3 separate regions of the Homo sapiens genome follow, and all the other regions are linked to region 1. Evidence: promoter capture Hi-C in human tissues and cell types (Jung and others, 2019). All regions are on one chromosome and are shown on one strand. Each heading gives the region's core, a stretch centred on a gene start or on the middle of the fragment in contact. The rest is flanking DNA. Distances are from core to core; before and after follow the strand shown.

Region 1 (3,458 bases), core at 686-3,185:
ATCGTAGAATAGATCAGAACATTCTAGGTTTAATTCTATCCTATTCTGCAAGACCTGTAGTACATTCAAGTCTATGAAGTTGTATGCAAGCAGAGTTACAATGCATATGCCTGCAAATCATTGTATATTACATCACCTTTACCTCTCATAACTCCAAGCACCTAGCTTTATATGCCTTTCAAAATATGTAAGAGTCAAACATCTTAGTTTTAATTTAATTAGCAATAGAATTCAAAAGAAGAATTTCAAAAGAAATTTGATTGCCTGATTCTTAGGGGTAATTTTCTAATTGCACATGGCCAACAGAGTAGTCATTATTATTTGATAATTGACTTGCCATTGCTACATATCCTTGCCTTTTCAGGCAGAATACTTAACTGCCTTGAACAGTCAATTGCCCTATTCTATTGCTTGCTTAATTGGGTAGCATTACTCGACTATAAAATTTTACTCTACCCTGCATGTTTTTGGTTCAATATCTTCATGTTTAAGGACCTAATGCAAGTTCTCAATTTTAATTTAACATTTGGAATGTAGATATTGCCAGAGGAAGTAGACAGTAGGATGTCCCTTTGTCTTAATAGCATGGAATTGATCATAATAACTACAAATCAGCCAACACAACATGAATCAGGAGAAAGGTACTTCTAAGGGGAGGAGATATGATCTCACATCAAGATTGATTTTTTAAAAAGCTCATATGAGAAAATAAGTGAAAGAAAATCACTTTTTTGCTATCATAATACTAGAAATGATATGACAACTTTTGCCTGAGAACCTCAACGTACTTTGAGGTTGTGGGATAGCTTTAGCAAGCTATTAAAGAAGTCCCTCATAAACCTATAAAGTAATTAAGTATGGACTATGGGGATTAAGACCATCGTAAATGGATATGAGAGTATTTGGGAAGGAGTCCAATGCACCCCACTTTATCAACAAATGGAGTTGACCTGCTCATCCACATATTAATAGAGTGCAGAAAGATAGCTACAGAGGAGTTCTGGTGATTACTCTAAATTCTCAGTTTCCTAACTGAGGGTACAGTCTGACTTATATCTCTGAGTAGATCACCTCCAATGCAAAAATAAATAAATAAAACAGAGCTCTGTGTCTTCAGTGTGAATGAATGATTACTGATATTGACAGTATCATCATATCATTCTTGCAGCATTTCCACAATGCCAAGAAAAAATGGAAAGGCCAGAAGGAAACTTAATCTTTGCCAAATCCTATGATGAATGCCCAAGGACCAAATCTGTAGTTAAGCTAGAGTCAGGCTCCTGACAGCCTTTTCCCCTACTCTCCATCCATCCCAGCTGTCCACTACCACCTGCAAACTCTTACCTGCTCTCCCCCCAGAACACATACCTGGCTGAAGGGCACTGTCCTGCAGGTCTCCCAATGTACTTCATGGCTTTTGATGGGCAAGATGACCCCCTGAGAAGCCGGAGTTTTTCTGAACATGAAGTGGTGCCAGAATTTCTTGGCTTCTTCCCGAAGAGGAGATTTCTCCATTTTCATTCCATCTATCGGCTGGATGAGGGACTGGGTCCCAGGTGGGAAGGGCTCACTATCTGAGTCCCTGGATGGATGCATTTCTCTCTCAGGCTTCTTCCAGAACCTGCCAAATCTGGACAGCATCTTCTCTCTCTGCCTCTGGCCTTCCCCTGCAGGGCTGGTGGCTACAAGGTGTGGCACTGCGACAAACAGATCTGGCTTCTCCTCAGCTTCCTCATGGTTGCCTGTGGGAAGCTCTCTTTGATTCCTTGGCAGGAGTACGGGGGAAAGAGAACTCTGATTCTGGCGGCCATCCTGGTGCCGTGTGGTCTTTCCTAGAGGCAGGAGTACCAGCAGCTGAAATAAGAGGAGATGCATGCTGTCAGGGGCCCAAGCTTCTTTTGTAAATGATGAGGCCCAAAGGAGAGGCTCATTCTCTGCAGGACTGGGAAAAAGGAAATCGTATATATAGATACCTGCCTGGCGGGATGGGAAGGCAGGTGGTCAGTAGCCAGGCAGAATAAACACATTTATTGTTTGCTTGAATTATGTAGTGCTAATGGCCTCCTGCCGTCACTTTGGTTTTGTGTATTTTAAAAGGCCCCAGTGAAAGCCTGGGACCCAGGGGGTAATTAGCTAAGAGTTTAGCTATGTCTGGGGCTTAAAGAGCAGTATTAGCAAAGACAACACATTCTTTGCCTAAATTTCCCATGGCTGTTTTCAGAAGAAGGACTAGAGTCAGCTCACATTTGCTGTGCATCTGCCTTGTGCTGGAATAGAATAGACAAGACATGTTGCTGTAAGAGAAGTTTTTGGATAAAAATTAAAGGCATACATTTAGAAAAAGCCCAGGCCTTTAGGAAGGCTATTCACACACACACACACACACACACACACACACACACACACACACACACGAAGAAGTATATCAAAGTTGTAAGGAGAAGAAAGGAAGAGCTAGAAGGATGTTAATTTTTTTGAGCAAGGGACATATTGTTTCTTACTTACATGCAAATTGGGGTTATTGATTTTTGCACAGTAACTGAGTAAAGGGAATATGTTTTCCTTTCCACACGTAGAAACTCACAATTCCCAAGTTAATCCTCTCACATTAAGAATCAATTAATGGGTGCTAAATTTCACAACTGGTCAGTCATCAGATAAACTCTTCCAATTGTTCACATGTTCCTCAACAGGATACCACGTAATAGACTGACAGCTCATCAGTCTTCAATGAGGATAGGGAAATGTCTCCCTCCAGCCATCCTATTGATTTTTTTTTCCCTTTGAACAAAGAGCCAGACATGAGAACGTGGATTCTAAGAACCAGGTTTGATAACTTTGTGTGTGACGCTGGCTAGTCAGTTTCTTACCTTATTGAATCCACATCATCTCCCCTTGTTTTACACTAATTGATGGCCAGGCTAAATAAAGATTGACACAAATAAGAGTCTTCGGGGATCAAAGGAAAAATTGAAAAATAACTATCATTCAAAACTATCATGAATCAGCCTAGGATACGAAAAAGAAACACGTCCAGAAAACTGAAACCCCAGAATAGAGTCCGATCAGCCTACCACATGATTCAAACAGTATTTCCACTGGGAAGCAATGCAATATCTGCTTTTATTTCTCCCCTTTTAATTCAATCACTATATTCCTTGCTTTCAATAACACAAATAGTCCTGGAACATGTTCCCCCTTTTTTGTCAATACTGATTAAACTTTCTTTCCAAGAAGTGACCCACTGGAGTCTGTTTTCCAGGCATTTCTGTTCTTCTTGATAGCCATGCCTGATTTCTATGAAATAAAGCCTTAAGTAAGTCCCTTTACCCATGATAATGAGCTATTTTTAACATGGACCATCACTTTACCAGAATGCCATGAGTGGAGATATATTGTACTTGTACCAAATATCTATGGAACGTGTGCTAGTATTAATGAAAGGTGCTGTTGATATA
Region 2 (3,458 bases), core at 628-3,127, 1.6 Mb before region 1:
CTGAGTCTCTGGGTTCCAGTCCTGCTCTTTTGCTACTTAATGATTATGTGACACAGGGCATTTATTTAGTCTCTGTCTTACTTTCCTCAGCTGTGAAATACAGCCAACAAGAGTCTCTACACAGAGTTTCTGTGAGGATTAATTAATACATGTAGGGTCCAAAACAAAAGCTTTGGCACATAATAAGCAATTGATAAATCTTTTATTACTAGTTATGATGGTGGTGGTTGTGGTGGTGATGAAGGTGATGATTACTGCAGTAATGAAAGCAAGATATGAAACTGAAACTCAATCCATACAACAAATGAGCAAATGTTCACCCTATCTGATCAATCCTGTTATACCTACCACACCTTGTTTATTGAGAAAGAGTACCATTTTCCACCCATTAGATTGACAAAAAACTTTTTAAAAAATGATCATATGATGTGGTAACAAGAATGTGGGGAAAAGGGAACATTCATATATTGGAAATAGAAATAAAAATTGGTATAGCAGCCAGGTGTGGTAGCTCATGCCTGTAATCCCAGCACTTTGGGAAGCCAAGGCAGGTGGATCATGAGGTCAAGAAATCGAGACCATCCTGGCCAACACGGTGAAACCCCATCTTTACTAAAAATACAAAAATTAGCTGGGCATGGTGGTGCGCACCTGTAGTCCCACCTACTTAGGAGGCTGAGGCAGGAGAATTCGCTCTAACCTGGGAGGCAGAGGTTGCAGTGAGCCAGGATCGTGCCACTGCATTCCAGCCTGGCAACAGAGTGAGACTCTGTCTCAGAAAAATAATAATAATAATTGGTATAGCAACCTTAAAAAGCAATTTGACAACTGAAAGTAAAAAATGCATATAAACTTACAGGCCAGCAATTCCAATTCCACTTCTGGATATATTCCCTAGATAAATTTTCATGTGTAAGTATAAAGAAATAAATATATTTACTGAACAGAATTATTATAATAGCAAATAACTATTAACTATCTAATATGAATCTGACAATGAATAAACTATGGTATATTCACATATTGAAATGCAACACAACAACTAAATTGAATGAATTAGATCTTTAAGTATCAAGCTTGATAGATTTACAAAACGTCAAGAATTGAGAGAAAAATTAAGCAAAATGGAAAATAATACATGTAGTAGTATATCAATTGTGTAAAATGAAAATCACATGCAAAATAAAATACAGCCCATTTTATAATCTTAAAATTTATATTTTGCTAAAAATTCTCTATTTTCATACAAAGTACATTTTTGTTGATTTCATGAATGACTGTCCCATCATGTTTTCAATGCTATGAACCATGTTCACAACACTAACTCCTAATTTATTAAAAGCTCTGGTTACTCCATTAAGCTTTCTTCTCATGTTCTATGAACTTCCCCTAGAAGTAGCTTAGTGAATCTAGGAGAACCACTACACTAGTGAGTACAGAGTACCTTCTTAGAAGGATTTATGGAATCTTTGGAGGTATTCTTCACGTAAGGTTGTTAGCACCTTTAGAGCTATCTTAGGATTGCATGAAGGTTAAAAGCATAAAAATTTTCCAGTCCAGAAGTTATGTTCTTCTTTCTCATAAGAAAATTTCATGATTTCTGTGTCAAAGGCTTTCTCTTTGCTTAGGTACCAGTGACAAATATTTTATCAATATAGACAAAGCCAACCACTGACTCACTATGTGCCAGGCACTCTGCTAAGGATTTTAGATGACACTGAATTTTCCCCCAAATTCAAAAGATTCTATTATTAACCTCATTTTACAGATAAAGTAGCAGAGACCTAGCAGAGATTAAGAAACTTGTCTTAGAAAGTATCAGAGCCAAAATCCTAACATGGCTCTTACTGACACCAACCATTTTGCATACTGCCTTCTGTATTAATCCTTTTTCATGCTGCTGATAAAGAAATACCTGAGACTGGGCAATTTACAAAAGAAGGAGGTTTATTGTACTTACAGTTCCACATGGCTGGGGAAGCCTCACAATCATGACAGAGGCAAGGAGGAGCAAGTCACATCTTATGTGGATGGCAGCAGGCAAATAAAAGAGCTTGTGCAGGGCAACTCCCGTTTTTAAAACCATCAGGTCTCCTGAGGCCCATTTACTATCAGGAGAACAGCATGGGAAAGACCTGCCCCCATATTCAATCTCCCACAGGGCCCCTTCCACAACATGTGGGAATTATGGGAGCTACAAGATGAGATTTGGGTGGGGACACAGAGCCAAACTATATCACCTTCTAAAATCTACTTTTCCTCTCATAATATTGTTACTAAAACTGACCAACCTATCTTTTTTTCCTGTGATTACTGTCCTCCTAAAAAATTCAAGTTTATCACTATGACTACCTGCTACAAAACAGTTTCATTTAACTTATTTCTACCTCTATCCACAAATAAATAAGACACTTAACACCTCAGAATATATTTTCTGCCACAGATCTAGCACTTATACCCTGTTCTCAATGTAGGCAGCACTATAGAGAGCTTGGGATTTTTTAAGTGAGTTAAGTGACTTTTGATGAAATTCAAATAAGAAATTCATGTTAGATGGCTGGAAATACATGCTGCTTCTTTGAAAGCAACATAAAATAGTGTTTTTTATATTTTAAAAATATTTAAATGTGATGGCTGCAGGTTATCACTGGTGGGCAGGGGACGTCATTAAATTGCACTGGCATTTACGAATATTACAAATTCTTCTCTTGAGCATTTTATTTATTCACTATGTAACAAATATTAATGTTTACTGAACACAAAGCATCACATTGTGATGGTGACCTTTAGGTCTGTTTGGGGTGGATGTCCACTGATTACCTATGTTTTACTCTTAAGGTGAAATACCTTGTGTTCTTAAATTGTTTCATGTGTCTCTACATCTTGCCCAGCCAAGTACATTAGAGGTTCCTTGAGGCAGGATTTGCATCTTCTATTTATTTCCTTGTTATTCACAAAATCATTGGCTTTAAGTCTAGGTCCATAATCAGGACTCAGTAAATTCCTATTAAACTAAAGTTGATTTTACTCAGCATAAACACATCAGTATGTTTTAGTGATGCACGTGATACATCTAAGTATATTTGAGGATGTCATCTTATCTATTATACATGAAACTGGTGCTAGACAGATTATGACTTAGGATAAACTCAGCCTGTGGTAACAAGGCTATGAGGGTACTTTTACACACAAACACACACACACACACACACGTTCTGAATATATATGTTTGCCTATCTAGTTTCTACAAATGCTAGGTAAAATTTAAATGAATACTTTTTGGTATACCTAAGATAAAACTCTACAGAACGTATTATCCATTCCAACTACCTATGAATAATTTTCTTTAATTTAGTCCCTACTATGTGCCAGATATCTCCATATATGTTAGTTTTAACCCTGTGTGATACACATTATTCTCTCCACTGTATACATTAAAAAATGATGGGTTAGAAGTA
Region 3 (3,458 bases), core at 581-3,080, 1.5 Mb before region 1:
ATAAAATAGAGGCTTGAGTAGAGTAGATGCTGTCATTTTCAGGAGAGTATGGAGACTCAAATGTGGATTCATCTACTAAGTCAGCATCATTTGTGCCCACCTAGAAACAAAACAATAATATCAGTTGGGAATTCTGTTCTATTACATATATGACAAACAATCTCCACTTGAGACTAAAAGGCAAACTGGTATCATTCTTTTATCTATTGTATTTTCTATATGCCCTCTTAACCCTCATCAGACACTGCTAATGCAGCAGAACAAGGATAAATAGCCCACCTACAGCAGAAAGTGCTGGCATACAAGGTTATTTTATTTCATCAATAAAAGGGCTAAAGGCAACAATTAACAAAGGGCCTGGATGAAGTCTATGTTTAAACAGTTCCATAGTTAAGAAAAATATTTACTTTCTTACAGTTCCCATGCCCAACTCTTACAATTTTATAATAAAATTGTGTCATAATTTTTCCTAGTCAACTAAAATAAACTGTTATTCAATGAGGCAGCTAGGCAATTATATATTTGTAAGCCACACTAAAACTATATATTTTGTTTAAATTATCTTGAACTAGATTTTAAAACCATTCAAGTTGCAGAAACCAAAAAGAAAATCTGTGATTTCATGCTAAAATTATACTAACAAACAAGGGGCCTAATTATGATCTGGTTATGGTGAAGCTTTAAGTTATAAACTTGTAAGAAAACTCATAAAGAGTGAGATAGAGAATTTCACTACATATTCTCTAATAATCCTATTGCTGTCTTCTGTCACAGAATCAAGATTAATATTTAAATTATGATGAGCTTGAAGTTCTTTTTGCAATTCACTCAAAGTCATACCTGAGAATAGGCAGAACTGACATATATACTACCTTTCTCTGATACTACCAGCATTTTCTGTCTATCTTGGCAAAATTCCATATGTTCTAATTTTTTTTTTGTAATTTCAACTTACTGCTTACCCAGGAGAAGTTAGAAGAATTATAACATTATATCAGGTCACATTCTTACAAAAAACTATTAAAAATACCTGTGGGCCATTTTGAAGTGATTTTCTCTTCAAATATACTTCATAGGCCTAATAATATATTTTAAATACATGTTCAAATTCACTAGTGAGTCACTATGTGGAGGTTTACCCTTACAAATATACATAACATACAACAATCTAGATAGACACTATTAACTAAGCCTTGTGTCATAGATTACAATACATATTTAAGTAACATTAATGAAAGAATACCTCAATATAATTTGTATGTATATTGCTGATATCTTAGGATCTTAGGAGAGATATTAACAATCAATTCATTTATTTACTGTAGAGATAAAACACTAAGACTCAAAGAAATTGAGTGACCAGTCCAAGATTACTTAGCTGGCTAAGGAGAAGACCCAGGACGCATATTACTATTATAAGATGCCAAGCTCACATAAAAGTGGAACTAATCTTCCTTTTGATTGGTATCCATTAAGGAGGTTCAAGGAAGCCATGTAAAGGCTAGAGAGAATGCTATTTCGTCGGGTACTTTAGAAATAATCATATATAGTATTTGTATCCTGTGACATTTCAAAAAGTATTTGCTATGGCTGGGTACTATTTACACCACAGTACTGTATGTAATTCGTTGTATATACTAAGCTATCTAGTTTTGAAGTGCTAACATAATACCCATGGAGAGCAGGGCCATAAGTTACCTGGTATGTTAAGTATTACAGTGTGAAATTATTGCATTTATTATAACATATACCAAAACTTTTCAAATGGCTATTTCAAGAGCTTGCAATTTAAAAATATTAGCAAAAGGAATTGTCTCCCCCGAAATTACAATCAGCAAAATGTATATATAGTCAAAGAAATAATTCACTCTGTTTTAAAGCAAGATGTGCGCAGTTATAAACACATAATGAAGAATTTAACAGGTTTTAAACCTTTCTCCAGTCTAATGAAACTCAAACAAGTATTTAAAAAGCAAGTATATTCCTTTTTAGCAACAGTGCACAATGTTTGCCCCACAAAAAACGTTGAGTAAGGAACCTAGCTCTAATAGTAGGGGTAATGTGAACAGGATGTACAATTTGTTGTATTTATGTTGAGTAAATGTCACATGTATATTCATGCCTGGTATTTAGTTTTATCCTTTAGTTATTGATATAGCATTGTACCCTCTACAAGAAAAAGTTTCTTAAGGGCAGAGTGCCTGCAAATACTTTTATTCCAATGGATACTATTTTAAACATCAAACAGAAATAAAATTTTAATTTATAATTTTTCTGGTAAATCAGTATACTTACATATATGTATTTATAGAAAACATGGGGTTTACCTTTCCATAAAACTGGTGTTCTTAATAACTGAACCAATTTATATGATTCTCACACTATTAATATCTAATGGAAAAAAGATACCTATTACCTCATTAAATACAGCCAAAACAGTGATTTATGACTGAATATTGAGCACAGTTAAAGAATGCCTAGAGATATCTAAGCGTGAAATTGGAGCAAACAAATGCTCCACAAACTTTAGATATGGCACAAAGATTAATTCTACATACTGCTACAATGCAACGTTAATTAAGTTTTCCTCACAAATGTTTTTCATATTTATTATGGTTTTTCTTCCCATTTTCAATTGTGAGAACTAAGTTGGAGAAAACATGTTTATCTTTCCAAATATAATAATGAACAAAGAATATAATAGACTTCTTCAGAATATTTTGAAAGGCAAAGTAAGACATATCAGGTTTCTGAAAGAAAGCTTGATAAGTCATAGCCACTAACCAGAGCCAAGTCAGCCCTGAAGAGGGGTTTGTCAGCCAGCCCTGCTTCCTCACAGGAGTGTGGTGGGTAGAGAAAGGAATCCTCCTTAGCAGAAACATAACCTTCTTCTGGTGAAAGCTGCAGGGAAAAAATGGTATTCATGGAAAAGAGAGAGAACAGCAAAGAAGAAAGAAAATGGAAAAGAAGAGTAAAGGTAGGAAAAGTGAGGGGGGCGAGAAGAGAAAGAAATTGGAAAGTTTTCAAACGATATGACTTCAACATAGAATGGTAAGTATGCAATCTGATATTCATATTTGACATTCATTTGATAAGACACAATGAGGATTATTTACTCTAATATAAAAATCACCTGTTGGATGAGAATCCCTTTCTACTAATTTTTCATTCTTCTTATAAGAATTTTTTTAAATGAATTTTTTTTTTAATATTCTAATAATCTTCCGGTTATTTTTATCTGCAAAATATTCTGGTCAAACAATGACTTCCTAATATAGAAATGAAGCAACTTTTAGGTATTAATAAAAGAAGTTGCAGAAAAACAAAATATTAAAAAGAAATATCAACTTCTGTCATCCCTTACAAGAATATTATTTTAAAGAATCCAATTTACTTGAAAAGGAATGTTAGTGAACTCTACGGGAATTCAATTTAGCATGGCTTATAAAACAAAACGA

The links. Contacts are between HindIII fragments. The study calls those that stand out against the background at their distance.
Region 2: a fragment that was not itself captured here is called in contact with the fragment with the promoter of CER1 in region 1 in 1 of the 25 tissues and cell types used here (dorsolateral prefrontal cortex).
Region 3: a contact is called between a fragment that was not itself captured here and the fragment with the promoter of CER1 in region 1, in 1 of the 25 tissues and cell types used here (dorsolateral prefrontal cortex).

What each region holds. Positions count from the first base shown.
Region 1 is chr9:14,720,798-14,724,255 of GRCh38, forward strand. CER1 (cerberus 1, DAN family BMP antagonist) reads right to left here and starts at 1,936. Exons shown (of 2, transcript NM_005454.3): 1 at 1,369-1,936. The coding sequence starts at 1,875. RefSeq lists enhancers at 1,084-2,023, 2,024-2,961. The HindIII fragment of the contact is 6,126 bases long and covers 795-3,458 here.
Region 2 is chr9:13,154,441-13,157,898 of GRCh38, forward strand. All of the region lies in intron 24 of MPDZ (multiple PDZ domain crumbs cell polarity complex component), which reads right to left. Among named protein-coding and RNA genes, the nearest start is that of MPDZ, 120 kb to the right of the region's middle. The HindIII fragment of the contact is 5,916 bases long and covers 1-3,458 here.
Region 3 is chr9:13,183,486-13,186,943 of GRCh38, forward strand. MPDZ (multiple PDZ domain crumbs cell polarity complex component) reads right to left here. Exons shown (of 47, transcript NM_001378778.1): 18 at 2,785-2,901; 19 at 1-100. Among named protein-coding and RNA genes, the nearest start is that of MPDZ, 94 kb to the right of the region's middle. The HindIII fragment of the contact is 3,288 bases long and covers 187-3,458 here.